Regions from separate parts of the Homo sapiens genome. Here regions 2, 3, 4 and 5 are each linked to region 1. Evidence: promoter capture Hi-C in 16 types of primary human blood cells and fetal thymus (Javierre and others, 2016). All regions are on one chromosome and are shown on one strand. The core of a region is centred on a gene start or on the middle of the fragment in contact, and the rest is flanking DNA. Distances in the headings are between cores, read along the strand shown.

Region 1 (4,788 bases), core at 846-3,345:
AGCAAGATTCTCAAAGCCAAGAGAAGTATCTTGTAATTTTTTTTTTTTTTTTTAGATGGAGTCTCGCTTTGTCACCAGGCTGGAGTGCAGTGGTGCGATCTCGGCTCACTCACTGCAACCTCCAACTCCCTGGTTCAAGCGATTCTCCTGCCTCAGCCTCCCAAGTACCTGGGATTACAGGCATGCACCACCACACCCAGCTGATTTTTGTATTTTTAGTAGAGACGGGGTTTCATCATGTTGGCCAGGATGGCCTCGATCTCTTGACCTCGTGTTCTGCCTGCCTCGGCCTCCCAAAGTGCTGGGATTACAGGCGTGAGCCACCGCATCTGGTCCGAGAAGTATCTTGTATTTATATATTGCAATGAGACTTCTCTCTCACGTCTTCACACTAAAGCATCATATCCCTCCAGTTCTGAATTTCTCTTGAGCTTCACAATGTTCTTCTGAGCACTGAAGCAATATAATTTAACTATAATTTATAAAGCTGAATAAAGCGGTACATATATAATGCCCAGCAGCAGGTACCTCAAGCTTTACATATCTCAAAACTCAAAGTATTTTTTTCCGTCAAATCTGTGCCTCCTCAATATTTTCACCTTCAGTAGCAGAAGTTTTTCACCCATGACTTTTCTTTCCCATTCACCAAATTTTAAAATTCCTCCATCACAAATGCCTCTTCTGCCACCTCTTTTTAATTTCCACTAGTCCTGACCATGTGCAGGTCATAATTATCTGCCTCTTAGACCACTGCAGTAGTCTTCTAATAGATTGCTCTGAATCCAATTTCTAATTAGTAGAATCCATCCTTTGTATTCCTCCCCATGATACATTTCCAAATATTGCTATGATGTACTTATTCAATCAAAAAAATTTGGACAGAATATAGTCCAAATTCTTTACCATGGCATTCAAGGCTCTCCAAAAACTGGCCTTGGATTCCTAGCTGGCTAGCTCATTGAGGTTAGGAGTATGTTTCTTAAAATATCTGGATAGAGCAGCAAGTTCTGTGTGTCTCTGTAGATGTGTGTATATTTATGTACACACATTTGTTTTATTGATGGAATCATTAACATTACTCTCATGCATCATGATTGCTTAGCTGGAAATGTTGTCAAATAAAAAACAGGGCCAGACAGTAGTTGAAGTGGCAAAAACACTGTAGTCAGGAACTACTGCAATAAGAGAAAAGAGACCTCAATACAGAGCTGGGCTCAATTCCAATTACAGCATGGACAAGTGGGGATTTAAAGCCAAGGGGGCGTCAGGTCAAGTGGATGGAAACTTACTGATAGGGAACATCACGGGTGGGAGGGTTCTGATTAAGCAGGCCTAATAGGATTCTTGCTGAAGCCAGGCCAGGGTGGTCAGATACCAATGATAGAAAATGAAGAATTTGATCAGGTATCGACGGTAATCAGGTATGAAGGGTTGGGGGTTCTCTCTCAACAGCCGTAGCGAGACCTTTGCTACAACTCGGTGATCCAGGGTCCACAGGATTGGAAGCCAAGGTCAAGGCCTAGTCGGAAAGAAGGCTTAGATGAGCCTGACCAAAGTTCAGCCAAGGAGAGTTTTTGCCAGTGTATTCACACTCCGTGTGTGTGTGGTGTGTCTGTCTCAGTACTACTGTAATTGATGAGGCAGGGGCTCCCTGGCCATCCCAGCAGTGTCACCATCTTTTGGGTAGAACAGCAGACACAGAGATGGCCCACTGTGGACAGTTAACTAACTGGCTCTGTTTAGCATGGGAAAGGAAGGAGAGTCCTGATTTTCTTTCAATATTCCTCAGGTATATTGATCTGACCCCCAAGTTACATAAGATCTGCAGTGATAAAACCATTACCCAAAAAACTCACTGTCTTTTACCACTTATATCCTCAGCATTATCATCAATTGTCTTAATACAAGGTTGGTGGCAAAAAACGGCTCACAAGTATGCATACAAAGGGGCCAAACACATTGAGCAGCAAAACCCCCAAAGCAGACACCGCCCGAGACCCGCTGGAGCGCTTCCGCAAATCTCGCGAGATAGCAGGCAGCGATGCCTTTTGCTCCGGTTTCTCGTGAGACCCCGGGGCTTCAGCTTCTCGTTTGCGGAGCCCGCGGCGGCGTTTCCTGGGGCAACAGCAATGGCGGCCTCGCTGTCCGAGCGGCTCTTCTCGCTGGAGCTGCTGGTGGACTGGGTGCGTTTGGAAGCCCGGCTGCTGCCGTCCCCCGCTGCCGCAGTGGAGCAGGAGGAGGAAGAGGAGGAAAAGGAGCAGGGGGAGGCCTCGTCGCCGCGCGGTCTGTGCCCCGCCGTGGCCTTCCGCCTGCTGGACTTCCCCACGCTGTTGGTTTACCCTCCTGACGGCCCCGGCGCTCCCGCCGCCGAACCGTGGCCCGGTGTCATCCGCTTCGGTCGCGGCAAGTCCTGCCTCTTCCGCCTGCAGCCTGCTACCCTGCACTGCCGGCTCCTGCGGACCCCGCTTGCCACCTTGCTGCTGCAGCTGCCCCCTGGGCGCCCGACGCCCACCCCACAGCTCCTGGGGGCCTGCGACATTTCGCTGGCCACCGCAGCGCACAGGGTCGTGGGGCCGGCCGCCTCCGGATGCTCCCACCGTCACCGGGGACGTTTCCCCCTGCATAATCGAGTGGGCGAGCGGACTGGGGACATTGCACTGGCCTACCGCCTGACTGACCTGGGAAGCCGCCTGCTGAGCCAACTTGAGCGGCCCCTCACCTTCACCCGCACAGGAGGAGGAGCGGAGGTCAGTCCCCAAACCCAGCAGGAAAGACAGCAGCTGCAGCAGCCAGCCTCACAGCCAAGCCCAAAAGAGGCTGATAAGCCGCTGGGGGAGTTAGAAATCCCAGAGGCACAGAAGGATTTGAAGGAAATGGTTAAAAGTAAGGCCGAATGTGATAATGTGGGTTCTGTGGAGAATGGCAAAACCAATTCTGTTGTTACATGTTCAGGTGCTGGCAATGGGAGAAATGTTAGCTCCCTAAATGAGGAAGTCACAGAATTGGACATGGAGACCAATATATTTTGCCCTCCTCCTTTGTATTACACTAACTTGACCCAAGAAAAACCGCCCCCTGCACAGGCTAAAATCACCATTGAGCCTCAAATGAATGCACCTGAGGAAATGGATGATGCTTCTCCTGAAAAAAAGCGTGTAAATCCCCCAGCACACAGGAGTTGTCTAAAGCATCCAAGTTCTGCAGCACACGAACATCCTCCAATGCTTGTAAATCCTCCACATATTCAGAATATAGGAGCAACTAATCAAACATGTCAAACTGAACAAAATCGAATTAATACAATAAGGCAGTTGCCTTTGTTAAATGCTTTGTTAGTTGAGTTGTCCTTGTTATATGACCAACCTGTGACAAGTCCTGCTCATATACATCCTCACCTAGCCTGGTTATATAGGACTGAGGATAAGAAGTCACCCGAATCTTCTGCCAAATCCACATGCCGGTCTGAAGCCAAGAAGGATAAGCGTTCTGTGGGGGGATGTGAAAAGTCAGTGAGTCTTCAGTATAAAAAGAACCAAATTGAAAACTATAAGGAAGATAAATATTCTGAAAAGAGCAGTGGTGCCCTCCATAAAAGAGTTCCAAAAGGGAGGCTACTTTATGGCTTAACAAATACACTAAGACTACGTTTAAAGCTGACAAATCCTGATATGTTGGTGGTACATGAAAAAAGAGAACTATATAGAAAAAGACAATCACAAATGTTGGGTACAAAATTCAGAATTCCGTCATCCAAAGTTAAACTATTAAGCTCTGCAGAACAAAGTCAGAAGCCACAACTGCCTGAAGATAAGTATTTAGATTCAGATGCATCTTTCACTGAAAATAGTGATACCTCAAGACAAATCAGTGGAGTTTTTGATGAGCCCAGCACAAGTAAAGAAACTAAACTGAAATATGCAACTGAAAAAAAGACAGTTGATTGTAGTAAAAATAGAATCAATAATGTTTCATTGGAAGAAGTTGTGAGTCCTGCAAATTCCATTATTCCAGAAAGGCTTACCCCTACAAATATTCTGGGAGGAAATGTGGAAATGAAAATCCAAAGTCCATGTGTTTTCCAACAGGATGCTGTTGTTGACAGAATTGTAGATAAGGAAATAGATATTAGACAGGTCAAAACCACAGATAATGACATTCTTATGGCTGATATAAGTGACAAGAGAACAGGTAAAAATAGTTGCTATGAAAACATCTCAGAACTGAAGTATTCAGATGATTTGTCTAGCCCTTGCTATTCTGAAGATTTCTGTACCAGTGAGGACACCAGCAGAAGTTTCAAAGCTCATGATAGCAGTTCAAGGACAGAAAATCCAAAACATAGTCAATATACAAGCAAGTCTAGTGACACAGGAGTGTCCAAAAAGAAAAATAGTAGTGACAGGAGTTCTATCCTTAGCCCACCTTTTTCAGCCGGGTCACCTGTACACTCATACAGAAAATTTCATATTTCAAAGACTCAGGATAAAAGTTTGGAGGAAGCATCTAGTATCTCTGCTAGTGATTTATCTTCAACACATTGGACTGAACAAAAAGAAAACCAGATAGATCAAAATAGTATGCACAATTCTGAAATTACAAAGAGAGCTCAAGACATCTCTGTTAAAACAAGAAGTAGTTGGAAATCTTTAGAAAAAAGCCAGTCACCACAAACATCCCAGGTGAGTTCTTACCTGCCTTCAAATGTGTCCGAACTTAATGTCCTGGATAGCAGTACATCAGATCACTTTGAAGAAGGCAATGATGATGTTGGTTCACTAAATATTTCCA
Region 2 (4,788 bases), core at 838-3,337, 460 kb after region 1:
CTCAACAAAGTTAATCTAGAAAAAAGGTGATTTATTGACTTCCCAAAAAGACAAGTGTGATTTAAAATGGAAAGCAGAGGTGATATCCATTTCAGGTGGAAGGCACTGCAGATATGATGACTTAAATGAATGACAACAGAAAGAAGCAAAGGCCTACATATTGGTTCTCTGCCCAGTGTGGTTGACCCAGCAGCGCAGGTGGACGGCAGGGAAGGCCAGAGAGTGTGCTTTGAACACACGACTGGGCATTTATTTTATGGTCCCAAGGGCACCCTTCAGGCCATTTCCAGACCCTGGGATGTGATATTCCACTGTACACGGGCCAGTGATTACAGCATGCAAGCTACAATCACTGCTGCTGAACACTCCCATTCTAGGTGAGATCAACATCGAAATCACATGAAGAGGGTGAAACAGGAAAGAAGACCACTAACCAATGGCCCAGAAGAGTGATGAGAGGTTATGCTTTGCCCTCTGGAGCTGCAGCGGAGGGGAGGCGTGGAGAGGTTTCGACTGGCCTCTTCCTTTTTGCCATTGTGAATCTGCCTATTATTGCTAACCCAACATGAGAAACACAAGAGCAGTGAGCGATATTATCAAACAGAAGCATGACTCTTTTAGTACTAGTCTAAAAACTTTTTTTCCTAGAGTCCATTTTGTTATATTCCTTACATATAAATCTTTTTTTGTTGTTGTTAAGAGACAGGGCTTCGCTCTGTCTGGGTAGACTGGAATGCAGTGGCACGATCATGGCTCACTGCAGCCTCAAGCTCCTGGACTCAAGTGATCCTCCCACCTCAACCTCCCAAAATGCAAGGTTTACAGGCATAAGCCACCATCTGCAGCAGATAAATCTTATAATAAACATTATTTTTAAATTAGAGGACATGCTATCTTAAGGAGCTATAAGAAATAATACAAGAATGGTGAAAAGAATGCTAACTCAAGAATTACTCTTAATATTTCAGTTCTATGTAATGTATTACTTTTATATCAACAAACACAAATGCTGTTCTTTAAAATACTCTGGCATGCTCTAAGCATTTAAATAACAACATTAAAAGCAGTGAAGGGAAATTTTTTGCAGTGCTAAGCCTAAGGCAAATGAATTCTAGATCTTATGAGAAGGTCATATTGACTTCCCAAAAAGACATTTATTGGGAAGCCAGTTAAACCATCTTGATTATGAATATCAATTTTATGCTTAAGTATATGCTGAAATATAAGAAAAATGCATATATTTCTGTCTGCCTATACTAGTAATTTCATAAACACTGATAAAAAACTTATTTTAATCAAGAGCAAAACATTTACATTTTGAAGTGTCACATTAATTGAAAATATTACCTTGGATTTCTGTGATTAGTTATGTGTTCACCTTTGGCCTCCTTGTCTTTATTTGGCTTTTCTTCCTTTCTGGAGGGCTTTTGCTGAATTACTTCTCCTTTGTCAAACATGAGGTGTAGGCGATAACTGACCAGTTTGATTATTGTGAAGAATATAGTCACTGCACTGCAGTAGAAAAATACAATGATCGCATTTGGAGGAAAAGCCTGAAGAAAGGAAAAGACAGAGAAAAATCATTTGCTTTTAAGATTTTCTTTCTGTTTTAAATCTGGAAGCATTTTTAGACTATCTATTGAATATAAATTAGGCAAGATTTCAAATTAGACTAATTTTTTAAGTTTTCCTGGTTAAAATACTTGAGGAGAAAGAGCTGCTTTTTATTTTTTGAAGTCTTTTTTGTTTCTCAGGTTCTGTAGTAGTTGCACTGATAACCAACATTTGATTTGCAGGCAGGAACCCCACAGAACAAAAGATATATTCGAGGAAACCTCTCCATTTTTTTTTTTTTTTTTTTTTGAGACAGTGTCTCACTGTATCACCCAGGCTTGAGTGCAGTGGCAAGATCTCGGCTCACTGCAACCTCCGCCTCCCGGGCTCAGACAATTATCCTGCCTCAGCCTCCCGAGGAGCTGGGATTACAGGCATTCACCACCATGCCCGGCTAATTTTTGTATTTTTAATAGAGACAGGATTTCATTATGTTGGCCAGGCTGGTCTCGAACTCCTGACCTCAGGTGATCCGCCCACTTCGACCTCTCAAAGTGCTGAGATTAAAGGTGTGAGCCACTGTACCCGGCCTCCATGTTTGATAAGCTCTTATCTATGGCCTAATCCAATGCATCTTCCTATGCAGCTCATCTTAAAGGCCAGAGATGTATTTTGTTTTCAACAACAAAACACAAAAAGCCTTGTGGAGAACAGAAGGAAAAAGAAGGGAGAAAGGTTAGGGTAACCACTCCCCCATTCCCCTCCCTAACCTCCCACTGCGATAACGCCTGCAGGCCATGGATTTCCCTAGGGTTGTATTGCACACAGGGAACCACAAAAGGGTACTACTTCCAAAAGGAAGAGGGATATTTCCAGCAGAGACAAATGATCTGAGCATGGCGACCATAGTGAGGTTCAGCTCAATTCTATGCAATCCCTTCAAGAAACAAAACGAAAAGAATCACTGGGACCCGTGGAGTTGTCCCACTCTGTAGCATCTCCCATATACCTTCCTAATTCTCTCCAGGACCATGGACTATCACACGTTCTCTGGTCCTTCCTAAACTACATTCCTATTCTTTGGGATGGAAAGAGATCCCCAAGTGTCCCAAGGTGATATCCAGGACAGCCTCAATGATTCGCAAGACCATTTTATCAATGGACTTCCCTAAAGAATATCAGAAATCCAGTGATCCGTGTAGCTGGTGCCTCAACCTAAACATAGCTAGGCTTGCAGACAGCAGGGCCCAGTCCATATCCATGCCTAAGCAGACCCTGTACAGCTTGCCGTGGTCCCATGCAAGAGTCTATCTTCCAAGTTGGACTGTCCCTAAAATGGAATAGCCAAACAGAGCACAAAAAAGAAAGAGGAAGATGATCAACAAGTAAAAGATAAAGTCAGAGATTTTCACCATCACTTAACTCGCTCTTATTATGTCATGGGGGGAAAAGTCCACAAATAAATATAAAGCAAGCAATAAATAAGTGACGGAATAACTATATAAGATGATACAAGCTAGATAATAAAGCCAGGTCCACTACCTGGCAGCAGATAAGGTTTATATTTACAAAAGGTGCATTTGTAAATATAAACCTTATATTTACATCCTAAATACTACTAATACGTTAAAATACTACTAATTTAAATACCACTAAATTAAATACTACTAATAGTTTTGGGTTTCAAAAATTTAAGCTAAATCTAGAGAGTTAATTTGAAGAGGGTAAGAAGGAAAAGAAAACCTGCAGATGTCCGTGAAAACAGATTATTGTTATATAAAAATGATATTCCGCCAGGCATAGTGGCTCATGCCTGTAATCTCAGCACTTTGGGAGGCCAAGGCAGAAGGATTGCTTGAGCCCAAGAGTTCAAGAGCAGCCTGGGCAACATAGTGAGACCCCCCCTCCGATCTCTACAAAATTTAAAAATTAGCCAGGTGTGGTGGCATGCACCTATAGTCCTTGCTACTGGGGAGGCTGAGGTGGGAGGACCTCTTGAGCCTAGGAGTTCAAGTTTACAGTGAGCTATAATCATGCCACTGTACTCCTCCTGCCTGTGCTACCAAGTGAGACCCTCTCTAAAAAAAAAAAAGGAATTATATTCAAGAGATTGTTGAATTTTCATGTAACTAGGGTTTCATAGTACTCTAGTCAGCAAGGGTAGCAAAGAGAGTTAGTGATCACTAAATACTCCATCCTCTCCTCTTCATTTCCTAGCTTCTCTTGCAGTGAGGCTGAGGCCATATGACTACTTTTGCCCAATGGACAATGAGCACAAGTGCTGGCTTAGACAATTATGAGCTAGGTGCCTCCCGCATCCCACTCTTTTCCTCTTTACTTGGTGACCTCAGAAGACATGTTTTCCAGATGATATGTCTATAAGATGATGCAGTTTCTTTCAGACTAGGTACCTGAGTAACTCTGCGGAGCAAGGCCCCTATAAACACAAGATGAGCCCATAACGGAATAAGTAGTAAACTTTTGAGTCATTAAACCACTGAGATTTGGAGTTGTGGCCGCTGTGGAAGCTAGCAATACTTAATTAATAACAGGGGGGTCCATTTTCATGAGGAATCTTCCATTCAAATTAGATTAGAGATAAATTGAGAAAACCCTAAGGCACTGAGAAAAGAATGGAAGGGAAGAAGAGTAAGAGATAAAAAATTGTATAGGGCTCTTGGGAAAATTCACTTAGAAAAAAACTGGCATGCCCCAATATTCAGAGAGATATTGCTTTTCAGTTTATCCTCATAAATTTAGGCTATAGTGTAAGCTTGGTAATACTGAAATTAAGTGAGGGCAAGAAGTTAGAATTTGAAGTTACCATGAGTACTAGCATCTAGCTAGCAACCCAAGTGAGAACAGGCCCTTGCCTCATCCTCTATAAAGGACCACTTGGCACTTTGTCATATCTGCAGCCCATGGACCTGACCAGACCATAGTGGGAGACAGAGATTTTACTGAAAATTTTCTGGAAGAAAGGTTTTACAGCATGCTATGCATGGTACATTGTTTCTCCCCAAACTCCCTGATCTCTTAATTCCTTTAAAAACCTCTCCCTAGCCAGGTGCAGCAGCACGTGCCTGTAATCCGAGCTTCTCAAAAGGCTGAGGCAGGAGGATCTCTTGAGCCCAGGAGTTCAAGACCAGCCTAGACAACATAGAGAGACCCTGTCTTATTCATAATTAATTAATTAATTAATACCTCTCCCTTCAGTAGACCCTCCAAATTGAA
Region 3 (4,788 bases), core at 784-3,283, 440 kb after region 1:
TTCCACTTTGGTTTTCTAGGCAGATTAGCAATTCCAACTTTCTGGGCAAATTAGTTCATTTTGGCTCTGAACTACTGAATCAATCTTGTGTTCTGGGTAATAAAATACTCAAGTGGATTTATCCTCTGGCAGTTTTTCCTACTAGCAATTCTAAAGGCTGCAATTCAAGCTGTAGTTTCCTCATTCTGGTTTCTGGGGAAAGCAGAACTGTGTTAGGTAATGTTACCAAAGATACCTGCTCTATGGACAGCTATTGTACAACCGGAAAATGCTGCTTATGTTTCTGCAGCAGTCCACAAGAACCGCACTGGTTCCCACAGTGACAGTGGGGCCAAGGAGAGAAATTTGTTTCCTCTCCCAGTTTCCTTCAGGAATCCCCAAAGAGACATGGAAGTTACATTACTAACAATTCCCTATTCATACTTGGGAGTCAGGGATATAAAACTGTCACACGGTAACAAGGCTCAACAATAGCTAAGAGGAATGGCTTTTTTGCCAATAATAAGAATCAGCCGTTTAATGGCCCAGTTGGAGACAGTCCCAGCCACTGAAGTCACCTTATGGGGAAAAGGCTGCTTTTCCAATATATCTTCCATGGCTGAATGGCTTACAGCCCCAAGTAGGCATCCTTCCAAGTTCAAAATCAAAGTTTATGTTTGTTTACTGTAATAGAAAACTTAAAATCTAATTGCATTAAAAGCCAAGGACATAATATTAAAGGACCTACTCTAAAATTATCATACATGCCAAGATGTTGGAATACAACAGGTATTTAAGGGGAATGCCTTAAAATCACATAAATCAACTCATAAAAGCACTAGAGGAAAGGCTTCCATCTGGCCAAAAGTCTCTTTTGTTATATAAAATCAGATATTTTGTTATAAAAATCAAGAAACAAAAGTCAACATCTTTTGGTATATCAAGTCACAGTGCAGTTTACCTGAAGTCCTGCTTCTATCCAAAGACAGTAACAACAGCTAACACTGACTGAGGACCCTCTATGGCAGGCACTGTCCTAAGCACTGCATGTGTACTATCACCTTTATTTTTTATTTTTTATTTTTTTTTGAGACTGAGTCTTGCTCTGTTGCCCTGGCTGGAGTGCAGTGACGTGATCTCGGCTCACCACAACCTCCGCCTCCCAGGTTCAAGCTATTCTCCTGCCTCAGCCTCCCAAGCAGCTGGGACTACAGGCATGTGCCACCATGCCCAGCTAATTTTTTATTTTTAGTAGAGACGGGGTTTCACTATGTTGATCAGGCTGGTCTTGAACTCCTGACCTTGTGATCCGCCCGCCATGGCCTCCCAAAGTGCTGGGATTACAGGCATGAGCCACCACACCAGGCCCACATTTAATTTTTAAAGCAAACCAGTGAATTAATTACAGAAGTATTATCTGCATTTTTTGGTTAGAAAATGGATACTTAAGATGGTTAAGCAAGTTGCATAACGTCAAACAAAAAGTAAATATCAGTGCTGGAATTTGAACCCAGATAAGTCCGAGACAAAACTTGTGTTCACATAGCTAGATACTAAACCTCTGATTTCAAGGAAGTAAAATTCTCAGTGTCAGATTTTCCTCTGTTGTTAGCTTTCATACAGACAGGGAAAATTGTTTCCTTATGAACTAATAAAACACAGGGCTGGACTGGGTGCGGTGACTCATGCCTATAATCCCAGAACTTTGGGAAGGTGAGGAGGGCAAATCACTTTGAGGCCACGAGTTCGAGACCAGCCTAGCCAACATGACAAAACCCCGTCTCTAGCAAAAATACAAAAAATTAGCCAGGTGTGGTGGTGCATGCCTATAATCCCAGCTACTTGAGAGGATGAGGCAGGAGAATTGTTGAACCCAGGAGGCAGAAGTTGTGGTGAGCCGAGATCACATCAATGCACTCCAGCCTAGGCCACAGAGCAAGACCCTGTCTCAAAAAAATTAAAAATAAAAATAATAAAAACTCAGGACTGGAAAATTTAATTTGAGTCTCCACCTCTGATTTCTATGTAGATTGGTTTTAAAAGGCTCATTTTACATGTTTCATTTTGCTGTACCTTCCCACTTATAAAAGGAGAAGATCACATTCTGTGTTCAAATGCATTGATCTGGCAAACTGCTAGTGCTTCTGGCTCTCCCTCCAACCGTCCCACCAAAGATGAGGGATTTATTTGTTGAGGTCGTTTTGATAATCCCACATTCATCAGGGTTGTTTTGCTCTGCAAATAGATTCCCATCACTCCTGCTGCATAAAGAACAAACCACACTCCTCCACCGGGTTTCATGGGCCCCAGGGCCCTACTCCACCCCTCCTGTTTAGCTTCTCCTGCTGTCCCTCACCCCAGAACTCCAACTGGGCCATCTTTGTCATTTCCAATGATTCATTTGATTTAATCCCACATTTATTGAGCACCTACCTATAAAGGGCTAAGCAAAGGCTGGTTTTAGATGTATGCAATCTAGAAAAAGAGATGAGAACCCTCTACAAATAAATGAGATACCAGGGAGACTGTGATCAGCATCCTCCTGGCAGCAACTTGAAGAGATGAATTTCAGAGAGGACTGAGAAGGAAAAGAAGCATAACAGAGGCAGATTGTAACTTGAGCTTTCAAAGATGAGAGTTTCAAAAGGGAGCAATGAGTGGAGAACTTGGCAAGGTGGTTTGGAGGAGCCTGCAGGGAATCACCTAGGGGCATCTGGATGCCGCACATGTGTGCAAGAAGGGCTGAGGGAGGAGGGCAGAGGCTGCTTTCCCACTGGAGGGGGCAGGGCAGAGGCTGACCACAGGTAGCTCACAGGCCACAGCCAACCACGCACAACCTGTGGTCTGTGGTGTTGTTAAAAAAAATTTAAATCGGCTGGGCGTGGTGACTCACGCCTGCAATCCAGCACTTTGAGAGGCCAAGGCAGGCGGATCACGAGGTGAGGAGATTGAGACCATCCTGGCTAACATGTTGAATCCCCGTCTCTACTAAAAATACAAAAAAATTAGCCCGGCTGTGGTGGCGCGCGCCTGTAATCCCAGCTATTCAGGAGGCTGAGGCAGGAGAATCACTTGAACCCAGGAGGCAGAGGTTGCAGTGAGCCCAGATCGCGCCACTGCACTCCAGACTGGGTGACAGACGGAGACTCTATCTCAAAAAACAAAACAAACAAACAAACAAAAGAAACTTAAAATCAACAACATGAAACAAAATACACTTTTAGATACAAATATGCATTTCTAGCTCCCTGTGGAAAAAAACGGAAAATCCTATCACCTGGGACTTATGAGCCATCATAAGTAGACTAACATAGCAGCAGCCCTTCAGATAGGATAAATGTCCTTCAGATGGGATGAATGCCCTTCAGATGGGATGAATGCCCTTCAGATGGGATAAATGCCCTTCAGATGGGATAAATGCCCTTCAGATGGGATAAATGCCCTTCAGATGGGATGAATGCCCTTCAGATGGGATAAATGCCCTTCAGATGGGATAAATGCCCTTCAGATGGGATGAATGCCCTCTGATTTACTGCAGTCATCACCACTCCTCTCTACCATTCCACACTGGGCCAGCTTCACCTATTTATCACATCTGCCTGGGCTCTGAGGAACCCTGAGCTTGTGACGCCATGGTGGGGGATGGGAGCAGGGAGGGAGACTCACCTGTCCACTGGCCACTTAGTATCTACATGAAGCTGAGCACTTTTGGCAATCAGTCTTAGTTTCCTTATCTGTAAAACAGAGCTAGTGTCACCAGCCTTAGTTTTGTTGCACAGAAAAATTAGATAATTTAACATTTAGCTTAGTGTGTAAGTGTTTAACAAATGGTGGCTGTTACTACCCGAACTACTGAAGGAAAGTGCCTCGTTCAGGGCCACGAACTGCCATAATATTGCACATGGGAACACAGGGGTAAGGTACAAGCTACTTGGTCCTTCCATGGGGCAAAATCCTGACCTGCTGGCATTTCACTGGCTCTGCTCTGGTTCCATTCTTTACCTTTACCATTAGAGATACAGCGATGACACCCCCAGGTGCACATGAACTCACACGAGTGCACACATGCACTAGTATGTTAATTCAGAAATTCAAAAATCTAAATTGAGCCTGATAGCTGGTTCTTATTCTGCTTTCTGAGAATTTTCCTTTCAGATAGCCAACCCAAAGATTCCCAAATCATCATTACATCATGGGCTTCTGCAAAAGACAAAGCTTATTACAAATCCAAAGAACTTAGCCCCCCATGAATGGGTAGCACAGTTTTCCATGTGTCAGACTCTGGGGAGATGTTTGAGACAATCGGAATATCCACCCTAAGCCTGTCAGACAGCAGTTTAAATCCAGAAGATCGTCTGACGGACATAGGACTGACTCGTTTTTCCTGAGCACGAATTAAACAGATGGTAGTGCCTTAACTGCTTTTCCAGAGCTGCCTAGGGAACAGCTTCAATGCTGTAATTTTGCTAAGTGAAGGGACTGGAGTTTTGTGCTCATGCATCTGACAGGAAGCACTGTATATGTCCTGTGACCAAATGGGCTGCTGAATGCCACAACACCACATAACAAAGTCCCCTCTATTTTCTATCTTAAGGACTAACTATACATATGATAGCAAACCATGTGTATTATTTCACTTTATCTTTGAAGCACAAGAAAGAGAAGTTACACATGGCAATGTGTCTTTCTTTTCTAGAACTCTTCTTGTTTTTTGGTGTTTTTGCTATGTTTTGTTTTGTTTTTTGTAGAGATGGAGTCTTGCCATGTTGCCCAGGCTGGTCTCAAACCCCGAGACTCAAGTGATCTTCC
Region 4 (4,788 bases), core at 1,191-3,690, 420 kb after region 1:
TGTGTGTTCTCATGGTAACTGATGACAATTAGTTTAGTTTGAGAAGCATGAATGATTTCCTCTTTACTTGTCATATAGCTAGCTACCTCTCATTTTATATCTCAGTTTGTGTGTATCTTCCCCAGAAAAGCCTTTGCCAACCACCAGTTCGAACATCAGTGCCCTTCCCTCTCAGGTCTCTCTATCTCAGGCCTTTATGTGCTTCCTTCATGGCACCTATTACAGTTTTCTCTCCTCTCCCAGAAAGTAAGTTCCATAAGGGCAGAGACAATGGCTGTTTTATTTATCACTCCATACCCAGTGCCCAGTACAGATCCTAGCACGGAACAGGTGCTTTGGTTCATATTTGTTGAATGAATGAAATGTTGAAATAATGCACAGAAGGGCAACTTCTTATTTCAGATGCTGACCTGATCGACTAGATAAATGAAAATAAACCCTCAGTGTTTTGAAGGAAAGGGTAATGGCAAGATATGAAATCAGAGAATATAAGTAAGGAGAATAGGACAAGTCCAGAAACATCTGAGTAGAATAGGTGGAGAACTGCAGGCAAATAGCTGGAACTGCAACGGCAGGAACCATGAAACTACTGCCCAAAGACTAAGAAAACATTTTTAAGGAAGAACAGCCTGACTCTTTTGAAGAATGTCATGCAGGATGACTTAATCTATGGGAGTTTATAGCAATGATTACTGCAATTTTAGTGCTTGTTACCCACTGCTTTCTTCCGCTTCCTGCCTAGCTCTTACAGTTTGTTTTTATTATGCATATTATGCATTTTTACCCAGCTTCCCCAATGATTCCGACCCACAGCCCTGTTTGGGGATTATGCTCTCCTTGCAAAGGTCCCAAACAGCTCAGTTTTTCTAGGTCAGTATTTTGGGTTTCTTCCTCCTTCCTCACTGTGAGCTGTGAGTTCATGTAGTCCCTTTCCTTATTTTAATTGACTCTAAATTATAAAACCAGATCACCAATCCTGCTAACTGATGACTTTTGGTAGGCTTATATGGCTCTGAATTAAAAGTGACGTTGCCTCATTCTCAGCAAACTAACACAGGAACAGAAAACCAAACACCACATATTCTCACTCGTAAGTGGGAGTTGAACAATGAGAACATATAGACACAGGGAGGAGAACATCACACACCGGGGCCTGTCAGGGTTTGGGGGGCAAGGGGAGGGAGAGCATCAGAACAAATACCTAATGAATGTGGGGCTTAAAACCTAGATGACGAGTTGATAGGTGCAGCAAACCACCACGGCACATGTATACCTGTGTAACAAACCTGCACGTTCTGCACATGTATCCCAGAACTAAAGTAAAAAAAAAAAAAAAAAAAAAAAAAAAATGTTATGTTACCTATGAACTAACAGTCTAAATTTTAGTGTCTGGATTTGACAACATCTACTTTGGCTAGCCTAATTTTATTTATTTTTAATTTTTCTTCTTTCTGGGAGCTGGGCCACATTCCAAGTAATAATAATAATAATAGGAGCAACTAATATTTAAAGAACTCTTTCAATGACTAAATTGATTTAATCTTTACAACCTCCCTGTGTATAGATTATACCCATTTAACAGATAGGAAACGGACGCACTGGAAGGTTTCATAGCCATCCTAAGATCATAGCACTAATAAGTAGTAGGGACCAGGTTTAATTCCCAAGGCTGACTCGAGTCCAGGGATTCCCCAACCAGCTGAAGGATCTATGGATAAGGGAATGGTGCTATTTCTAGGTCATCCCTAAGCACAACATTTAAAAACCCATTGTAACTTGCCAGAAAGGTGATTAAAATAATGAAAACATAAGCTTTTAAAAAGTGCGGTCATCCTCATCATCCTTCCTAGACTTCCAATGGATTTCCAATTAATTTTTTGTCACCAAGTAGATTTTAAAATAACAGACAAATCTATAGATACATTTATTTTTGTTTTGACATGAAGGGTTAATGCAAGCTAGTCCAACTTTCAATAATTTCTTTTTAACAGAAAATAATTAATATTTCAAAAATGCCTCATTTACCAGAATATACTATCTTGGATTTTTAGTTAAGTATTAAATGTTCCTTCTAAGTGTGTGCCCCTTGGGTAACATAGTGTTGTTAGGAAAACCATTATAACTCCATTCCCTGACTTGTGGGTCCTGAAATTTACTGTTGTAATTTTGCATGACTATAGTTTTTTTCATATGTGATCACACTATTTAAGACATTACTATAAAAACCAGTCACTGGGGGACCAATGACAACAAGACAGGCAACCAGTTTTTCCACTGCCCCCAAGAGCTGGCATTAAACTGTGAAACTCAGCAATTGCTTATGGCAGCATTAGTAATAGCATCTGAAATTTTCAAGCCAACCGTGTAGTCAGTGCTACTCAGCCCCTGAACATCATAAACTGTTATGTGCAAATTTTGAGGTAGGAAAAGATACAAATGAGAAGCCCCCACTCCTTAGGCCCATCTCCATCATGTTTTCTTTTTTCTGGGTGGGGGGGAGATTAAGTTTTGCTCTTGTTGTGCAGGCTGGAGTGCAGTGGCACAATCTCAGCTCACTGCAGCCTCCGCCTCCTGGGTTCAAGCAATTCTCTAGCCTCAGCCTCCTGAGTAGCTGGAACTACAGGCATGCACCACCACACCCGGCTAATTTTTGTATTTTTAGTAGAGATAGGATTTCACCATGTTGGTCAGGCTGGTCTTGAACTCCTGACCTCAGGTGATCTGCCCGCCTCAGCCTCCCAAAGTGCTGGGATTACGGGCTTGACCCACCATGCCCAGCCTCCATCATGTTTTAACTAACCTTAACTTCTCCTCCTCTTTCTCCCTACCCAGTAACCACAGCTCCAACCCCACAACGTTTTGCTGTATGGAACAGTGGTAGGAGGAGGTGAGAAAGGGGAAAGGAGATTAAAGGAAAAATTAACATTCAAGTGAGTGTACATCAGATACAAGTGAGCAATAAGAATCCAAGGTGTCCGGGAAAGAGGCAGAAATCACCCTACTTCATCTTCCCTCCTCTCCCCATGCCCACACCCAGTCAAGCCAGGCCCTGTGCTACAGATGGGCCTCAAGCTTTCCCACAAAAATAGGGCAAGACGTGAGTACACCAAAGCATGCTACTGTGCCCAAACAAACCTTAAATACAAACCATTTCTTATTTCTTATTGTAACTTATTATTTCTCATTATCTCTTATTATTAATATGTTAATTTATTATTAATAAGAGTTACTTATTGTAACTCTCTTATTTCTCATTGTAACTGCTGAACTACAATTTGTTGTCAGGATCTTTTTGCTTTAACTTTGGGTTGTCAGCAAAGGAAGCGTACAACTTGAAAATGTGCAAGTGACAATGTTCTCTTTGAAAGCATGCAGTGGGCACTGTCACGTCCCCGGTGTGCCTTCCGACAGTGTGTGTGCATGCTCAGTGGCTTACCGATCAAGTAATGCCAGCAAGGTCAGTCGATCATACCAGACTTTAATCCACTTGCCAGGGAAAATGATAAATTTGTAAAACTGCTCTCGGTTAAATTTTCCTTGTGTTGAAGAACATGACGAGGCTTCCAGATCCTGACTCACATGCTTTTAGATACCAAAAGAAACAACAGAAAAAAGGGCTTTATGTTGTCATGGCATGGCCACAAATATATATATATATGTATACACACACACACATATATATGTACACCATAATTTAAAAATACAAAAAGCAAATGTTCAAATTCTGATATGTAAACCAACATATTTCATTCAAACTAAATACTCTAAGAAAAGGATAATGATCAACAAAAAGCGCTTTTCTTACCAACATACTTCAATTTCTTTACAACGTACCATTAAAATTCTGCTACTCATCACGTCAAAATGCTACTGCTCATTAAGGCCAAGAAACTGCTATAAAAATAGTTCTTATGAAAAGTAGGAATTCAATAAAAGATCTTAAATGACTTCATTTCTGAAAAGTGTGTTAATGTTGAGATACATATTCAAATTTTACTAAGAGTAAAAAGATTTTCATTGGCAATATCTAGGTTATTGGTGAAGCCTGCTATAAGAAAAACTGAAATATTTATTGAAAAAATCTAAATCATTAAAACTAAAATGTGGAGAAATTTAGACCCAGATAGTAAAAGTTTTAACCCCTAATTCATCTCTTATTAGCTCTAATTCAGTGGAAAAGAATTCAATTTTGAAAAAAAAAAATTAGTCTTCATTGATTTGTCTATCAAATACTTAATGAGGGATTCTTAGGAGCCTGGAACAAGGTTGGGAACACGCAGTTTTCCATGTAGTCCCCCTAGTGAAGATGTTGGTAATAGAATGTGTTTAGTTAATCCTAACAGTGAGGTCCCAGATGAAGTGGAGAGCCTCCTATTGGACATCCCACCTGTGTTTTGTTTCCCGTTCTCCGTGTACAGAAGCTGTTAAAACCAAAGCTCCCATGCAGCTCCTCCTTCATTGTTTGACCGTTTGCTTGTCACTTCTTGCTACTATCTTAAGCCTTCTCTAGATACCCCAGCCCCCTGCAGAGCTTCTATTTCTAACCTCTATATATCTTTAATTGTGGGTGAAAAACAAATATCATAAAATTTACCATCATAACCATTTTAAGTGTAAAATTCAATAGTGTTAACCATATTCACACTGTTGTGCAACAGATCTCTGGAACCTTTCATCCTGCAAAACTGAAACCCCAACTCCCCATTTACCCTCCCCCCAGCCTCTGGTAACCACTTTTAGGTACCTCATGTAAGTGAGATCACACAGTAGTTGAACCTTTTTGTGACT
Region 5 (4,788 bases), core at 712-3,211, 370 kb after region 1:
GAATATAATGCCTTTGGAACTGTTTTGAATTATATGAAACCTACAAATTCATTAGAAAGAATTGGCATTTTATAAATCTCAGCCTTCCTATCCAAAATCAGGTTATGTCTATCTCCACTTATTCAGAACATCATTTACATTTTAATAAACTGCGGTAGTTAGTTTACTTTATTTGTGACACTACTTGTTAGAAATCATTTCCATTATCAATTCAGACATTTTGTTGGTATTGTGAGTTGGATCACATTTTCATAGGTTATTTCTGGTATGTTAGAAAGTTCTTGCTTTTCTAAATTTTCTTTTCTCTGGTTGTATTTATGAATACTCTTATTAATCATAGTTGATTATATAGTATGCACAGAAAAGTTTTATATACACATATAAATCATCATTTTTTTCTTTTTCTCTTTGCTCTTTACTCTTTACTATTTTGCTTTTCATTTTATATATACATAAAACAAATATATAATTTAAATTTTATATATAATATATAAAATTATATATAAATATATTTAATTTGTATATTATATATAATAAATTATATATTATATGTAATATATAACATATTTTATATATTATATAGTATTATAATAAATATGTATTTAATTTATATTATATATTATATAAAAATTATGTTATATATTTAATTTATATTTTATATAAATTATATATAATATGTAATATATAATTTATATTTTATATAATGTAAAATAGCAAACTATTAATATTATTGAATATTGTTTTAGAAGTTCTGGCCAGTGTAAGGCTGCAAAGAGAAAAAAATGAAAAATTTATATATAAATTTATATATAAATTTTTGGATTTATGGTAAATCCGTGCATGTTTAACTAAGAAATATATTAGCTTTTCATATACTGAACATTTTAAATTCACTGTGGCATTTTATATAGTACTTCACACTCCAACTCTCAAAGGAAGCTTAAGAACCCCTGTTCCAACATTCCACATCTAGCAGCATGGGACCAGAAAAATCTAGATATTATAACCAATGATTTAGGAAAAGACTGTTTGAATTTTACACATAAGAATTAAATAGGCTTTTTTTTGTTTCTAGGAACTGAAGAAAATTGATACAGTGAAACAAACAAATCTAAACATAATAAAGGGTGTTGAAAATGACAAAGATATGAAAGTTAAAAGAGTCTGTGCTAATAAGACAAATAGAAAAAGACTAACCAGGTAAACCATTAGCGGAAAGTTTATATCTTTATTAAGTAATGAATTTTGGTGATAAACTTTGTGTGCATAACTTATCTTGCTCATATGCAAATGTATAGGCCCATTGGTATATCTCTGTTTCTAGATCAATGTTTCCTGAAGTGCAATCTGTGGATCACCTAAACAGAATCACCTGGGTGAACATTCTTGTTAAAATGAAGATCCTCAGACCCCCTCACAGGCCAGATGAATCAGAATATGGGCAGAGGGCTAGAAAACTGAAATCTAATGAGGCTCCCTGAGGGGTTCTCATACAGACTAAAACTCAAGAAGAGAGACAGACAGACAGAGAAAATAAGAGCTGGAGACACAGAGAAACAAAATCAGAGACAATGGGAGGGGGGTTTATGCTTGCACAGTGTCACAGAAGGTATTATATCAAACTCTAAAAGCTGAATGTGATATTCCCATTAAAATATTATAATTAGGCCAGAGACTTTTCAGAGAAATGAACACAAACATCTTATTAAATCACCTAACAAGTTATGTGCTCCACACTGTACAAAGCATTTCAAAGGGTATGAAAACCAAGGGAGGCAACACCTAGCCCATCACATCTAATTATACCAATGAAATACTATCAACCTCTGCTGGGCAAATTTCTTGTCAAATTTCCTTGTAATTCCTACCTTTTTTTTAACTGCAATAAATCAGAAAGTAGAAATGCATCTTCATTAGTCATGAAATCAAGGAAGATTGAAGGGCATAGTTTTTCTCAGATATCCATGGGGAGACTTTTGGGTAGACTCTGGGCCACCCTACGGCTTTTACAGAAAATGCTGTAGGAATGTCAGTTTGACCTTCTCCCTGTAAGTCTCCTGGTATAAATATTAGAGGTCAGGTTGTGGATGCTAGGCTTATGTCAAATATTTCTCTTTTTTTTTAAGCTGCCATCTCATCAGGCCCAGCTGCTTTGACTTTTAACCTGCTTTTAAATGTATCTCTGCTCCTAAAATTCATGAACTATGCCCTTACTCATATTAAGTGATTTGTCCTTTGATTCCCTTGTAGTGGAAAAAAAGCCTTAATACTAGTTTGAATTCTGACCACACTCAAAGGCACAAAAGCTGAGTATGAATTTTTTTAAGGCTATCATGTTGGCTGTGAGTCCTGTACGTCGTCTTGAAATGGCAGACTGCAATTAAATTCATCGAAATTCCATGAACTGTACTGAGCACCCACTGTAACACCGGGCACTGGCTCTGTGGATATCAAGACAAATGAGACACAGTCCTGGCTGGATCAACAGACTATTTCTCTTTTCCTTTTATCTGTCATTCCTAAGAAAACCAGGAAAAGTGTGAGTCAAGGACATCAGAGGCTCCAAGCTCAATACTCAGATGTATGGGAGCTTACACAATTAATGAGCATTGTGTTTCAAAGTATGAATGTTTGTAAGTTGATACCAAAGAAACGACATCTGCTAAAAGAACTTTTGAAGCTGTCCAGAGCCCTTATCCTGGTGAACAAGGAAATGGCATCATTATTTTATAGTTGTAGGATTCTCTTGTTCCTTCCTTTCTCTCCTTCTTCCTTTTCTTCTCCCGTGCTCCACCCAGTGTGGTTGCCCCCTTCTCTGTGACCCAGCCATAAGTCTAAAGTCCAAGGGCCCCAAGCAATCGCTATGCAGACATCAACTTTGAAAGAATGCTCTGAACTAAGCATGGTGCTTAGGGGAGAAGATGTGGAGAACAGCTGTGTGTGGACCACATCAGGAGGGCAGGTTGGCTAAACGTTTATCTGACAAGCTTTCATTTGTGCAGAGCCCACCTGCTGTTTGGTGCCAGCAATACACAAAACGGACTGAATGTGATTCATGTGACTATCCTGGCAAACTGCAGCCACCTGAGGGCCACCTAAGTGGCCACACCATGTGTGCACAACAGCCACCATCAAGATGCTCTAGGCTGGGGGCGGTGGCTCACGCCTGTAATCCCAGCAATTTGGGAGGCTGAGGCAGGCAGATCACGTGGTCAGGAGATCGAGACCATCCTGGTTAACACGGTGAAACCCCGTCTCTACTAAAAAAATACAAAAAATTAGCTGGGCATGGTGGCGGGCACCTGTAGTCCCAGCTACTCGGGCTGAGGCAGGAGAATGGTGTGAACCTGGGAGGCGGAGCTTGCAGTGAGCCGAGATCATGCCACTGCACTCCAGCCTGGGAGACAGTGAGATTCTGTCTCTAAAGAAAAAAAAAGATGCTCTAAAGGGCTTGTAAAAAAATAAAGTAAAGGTTCCTCTTCAAAGACTTTCCTCCCCATTTAATTAGGAATAAATAGTAACTTCTCTTAGAAGCAAAATTTATTCAAAGACCTGTGCTAACATTCTTAAATATCTGCTAGCCGTGATAAAGAAATCAATGTACTTTATGTTCTTAGCTCCCACAATTTAGCCTAAATACTTGCTCTGGCATGCTTATACTGGTCCAAGCAAGCATTAGGTCATAGCCTGATCCTCTTCCTTATTTAAAGGTGTTTTTACCTTTCTTAGCATTCCACAAGTTACTTCCTCCTTCCTTTGTTCTCCTCTACCTTTGCCTCTTCTAAAAAGTTCTAAGTTGCTAGCCAATCGGGACAAATATAGAATGTGAGGCCCCATTCCAGCCAATGGAAACCGGACACAGCAGTAAGGTGGATGTGTCAGGTTATAAATGACCCTGTCTCCTTTGTTTGGTGTACTCTCATGGCAAAACTGCTGGCGAGTGTACCCTTTCTGCAGAAAGTATAAAAATGGCCTTGCTGAGTAAGTTAAATTTACTTTCAAGTGATATTCTTTACAGCACCGGAGAGCAAGCGTTTCAAATAGGGCTGCACCTGGCAGGCAGCTCAACAGCCCAGTGTGCCAGGTACCAAGCGAGGTGTATCTTTCTGTCCTAGTCCTTCTCATGTCCACCTGCCTAGAGCTCCATTGAGAGCCTGATCTCTGCTGAAAGATGAGGCCCTCCTATGCTACATTACACAACGCAAATGTCTCACCACTGAATCTTTCATCTTCTTGGGGAGAGGGTCAGCAGCTGACTCTGCCAGATTTTGATGTAAAAATTTAGGAAACAGCCTGCATTGGATGAAGGACCTGAAAGTGGAAAAACACAATACTTCATCAAAGATGTTCCTGGGACAGTGTTTTCGGTAAATAACTTCACCTTAGATCTCACACCCACACATGACAAAAACAAGTGCTCTCTTCATTTAAAAATTTATAATAAAAAGAGGTGCATGTTCAAGTGATCATAAAGATAGTGTTTTGATTTGTAAATTTCATCCTAATGAGAGCAGTCAAGTACCTTAGCAGTATCATTGCCCTCTATTGTCAGCAGTGGGACATGGGGAAGGTCCTCCATCTCTGCTAGCCCACTAGGGCTTCATCTTCACAATTAGCAGCAAAAAGTGAACATTGCACTAATACAATTGACACTAAAAATTGTGTGAACCATGTTTAACTTTTGTTTCCCCCATTTTTCATGCCTTTCACACTACTGCACCTCATGGCCTAAAATTATGGTGTCTCTGGTCTTCAAAGAGTTACGGTTATCTTAAATCAAAATCTTTC

Evidence for each region. The method cuts DNA at HindIII sites, captures the fragments that hold promoters and counts their contacts. A CHiCAGO score of 5 or more calls a contact.
Region 2: a contact is called between a fragment that was not itself captured here and the fragment with the promoter of MAP10 in region 1, in 1 of 17 cell types (M1 macrophages). The highest score is 5.0, in M1 macrophages.
Region 3: a fragment that was not itself captured here is called in contact with the fragment with the promoter of MAP10 in region 1 in 5 of 17 cell types (M1 macrophages, M0 macrophages, monocytes and 2 more); the score reaches 9.2 in M1 macrophages.
Region 4: a contact is called between a fragment that was not itself captured here and the fragment with the promoter of MAP10 in region 1, in 1 of 17 cell types (M1 macrophages). The highest score is 5.1, in M1 macrophages.
Region 5: a fragment that was not itself captured here is called in contact with the fragment with the promoter of MAP10 in region 1 in 1 of 17 cell types (M1 macrophages); the score reaches 5.1 in M1 macrophages.

What each region holds. Positions count from the first base shown.
Region 1 is chr1:232,803,321-232,808,108 of GRCh38, forward strand. It overlaps MAP10 (microtubule associated protein 10), which reads left to right and starts at 2,096. Exons shown (of 1, transcript NM_019090.3): 1 at 2,096-4,788. The coding sequence starts at 2,130. RefSeq lists enhancers at 1,891-2,488, 2,200-2,279, 2,489-3,085. The HindIII fragment of the contact is 4,755 bases long and covers 533-4,788 here.
Region 2 is chr1:233,261,611-233,266,398 of GRCh38, forward strand. PCNX2 (pecanex 2) reads right to left here. Exons shown (of 34, transcript NM_014801.4): 2 at 1,348-1,553; 3 at 435-555. Among named protein-coding and RNA genes, the nearest start is that of PCNX2, 32 kb to the right of the region's middle. RefSeq lists an enhancer at 1-26. The HindIII fragment of the contact is 4,475 bases long and covers 1-4,325 here.
Region 3 is chr1:233,242,782-233,247,569 of GRCh38, forward strand. All of the region lies in intron 8 of PCNX2 (pecanex 2), which reads right to left. Among named protein-coding and RNA genes, the nearest start is that of PCNX2, 51 kb to the right of the region's middle. RefSeq lists a silencer at 142-436. The HindIII fragment of the contact is 4,317 bases long and covers 1-4,192 here.
Region 4 is chr1:233,223,790-233,228,577 of GRCh38, forward strand. PCNX2 (pecanex 2) reads right to left here. Exons shown (of 34, transcript NM_014801.4): 10 at 3,437-3,582. Among named protein-coding and RNA genes, the nearest start is that of PCNX2, 70 kb to the right of the region's middle. The HindIII fragment of the contact is 1,260 bases long and covers 1,811-3,070 here.
Region 5 is chr1:233,173,588-233,178,375 of GRCh38, forward strand. It overlaps PCNX2 (pecanex 2), which reads right to left. Exons shown (of 34, transcript NM_014801.4): 17 at 4,215-4,311. Among named protein-coding and RNA genes, the nearest start is that of PCNX2, 120 kb to the right of the region's middle. The HindIII fragment of the contact is 2,048 bases long and covers 938-2,985 here.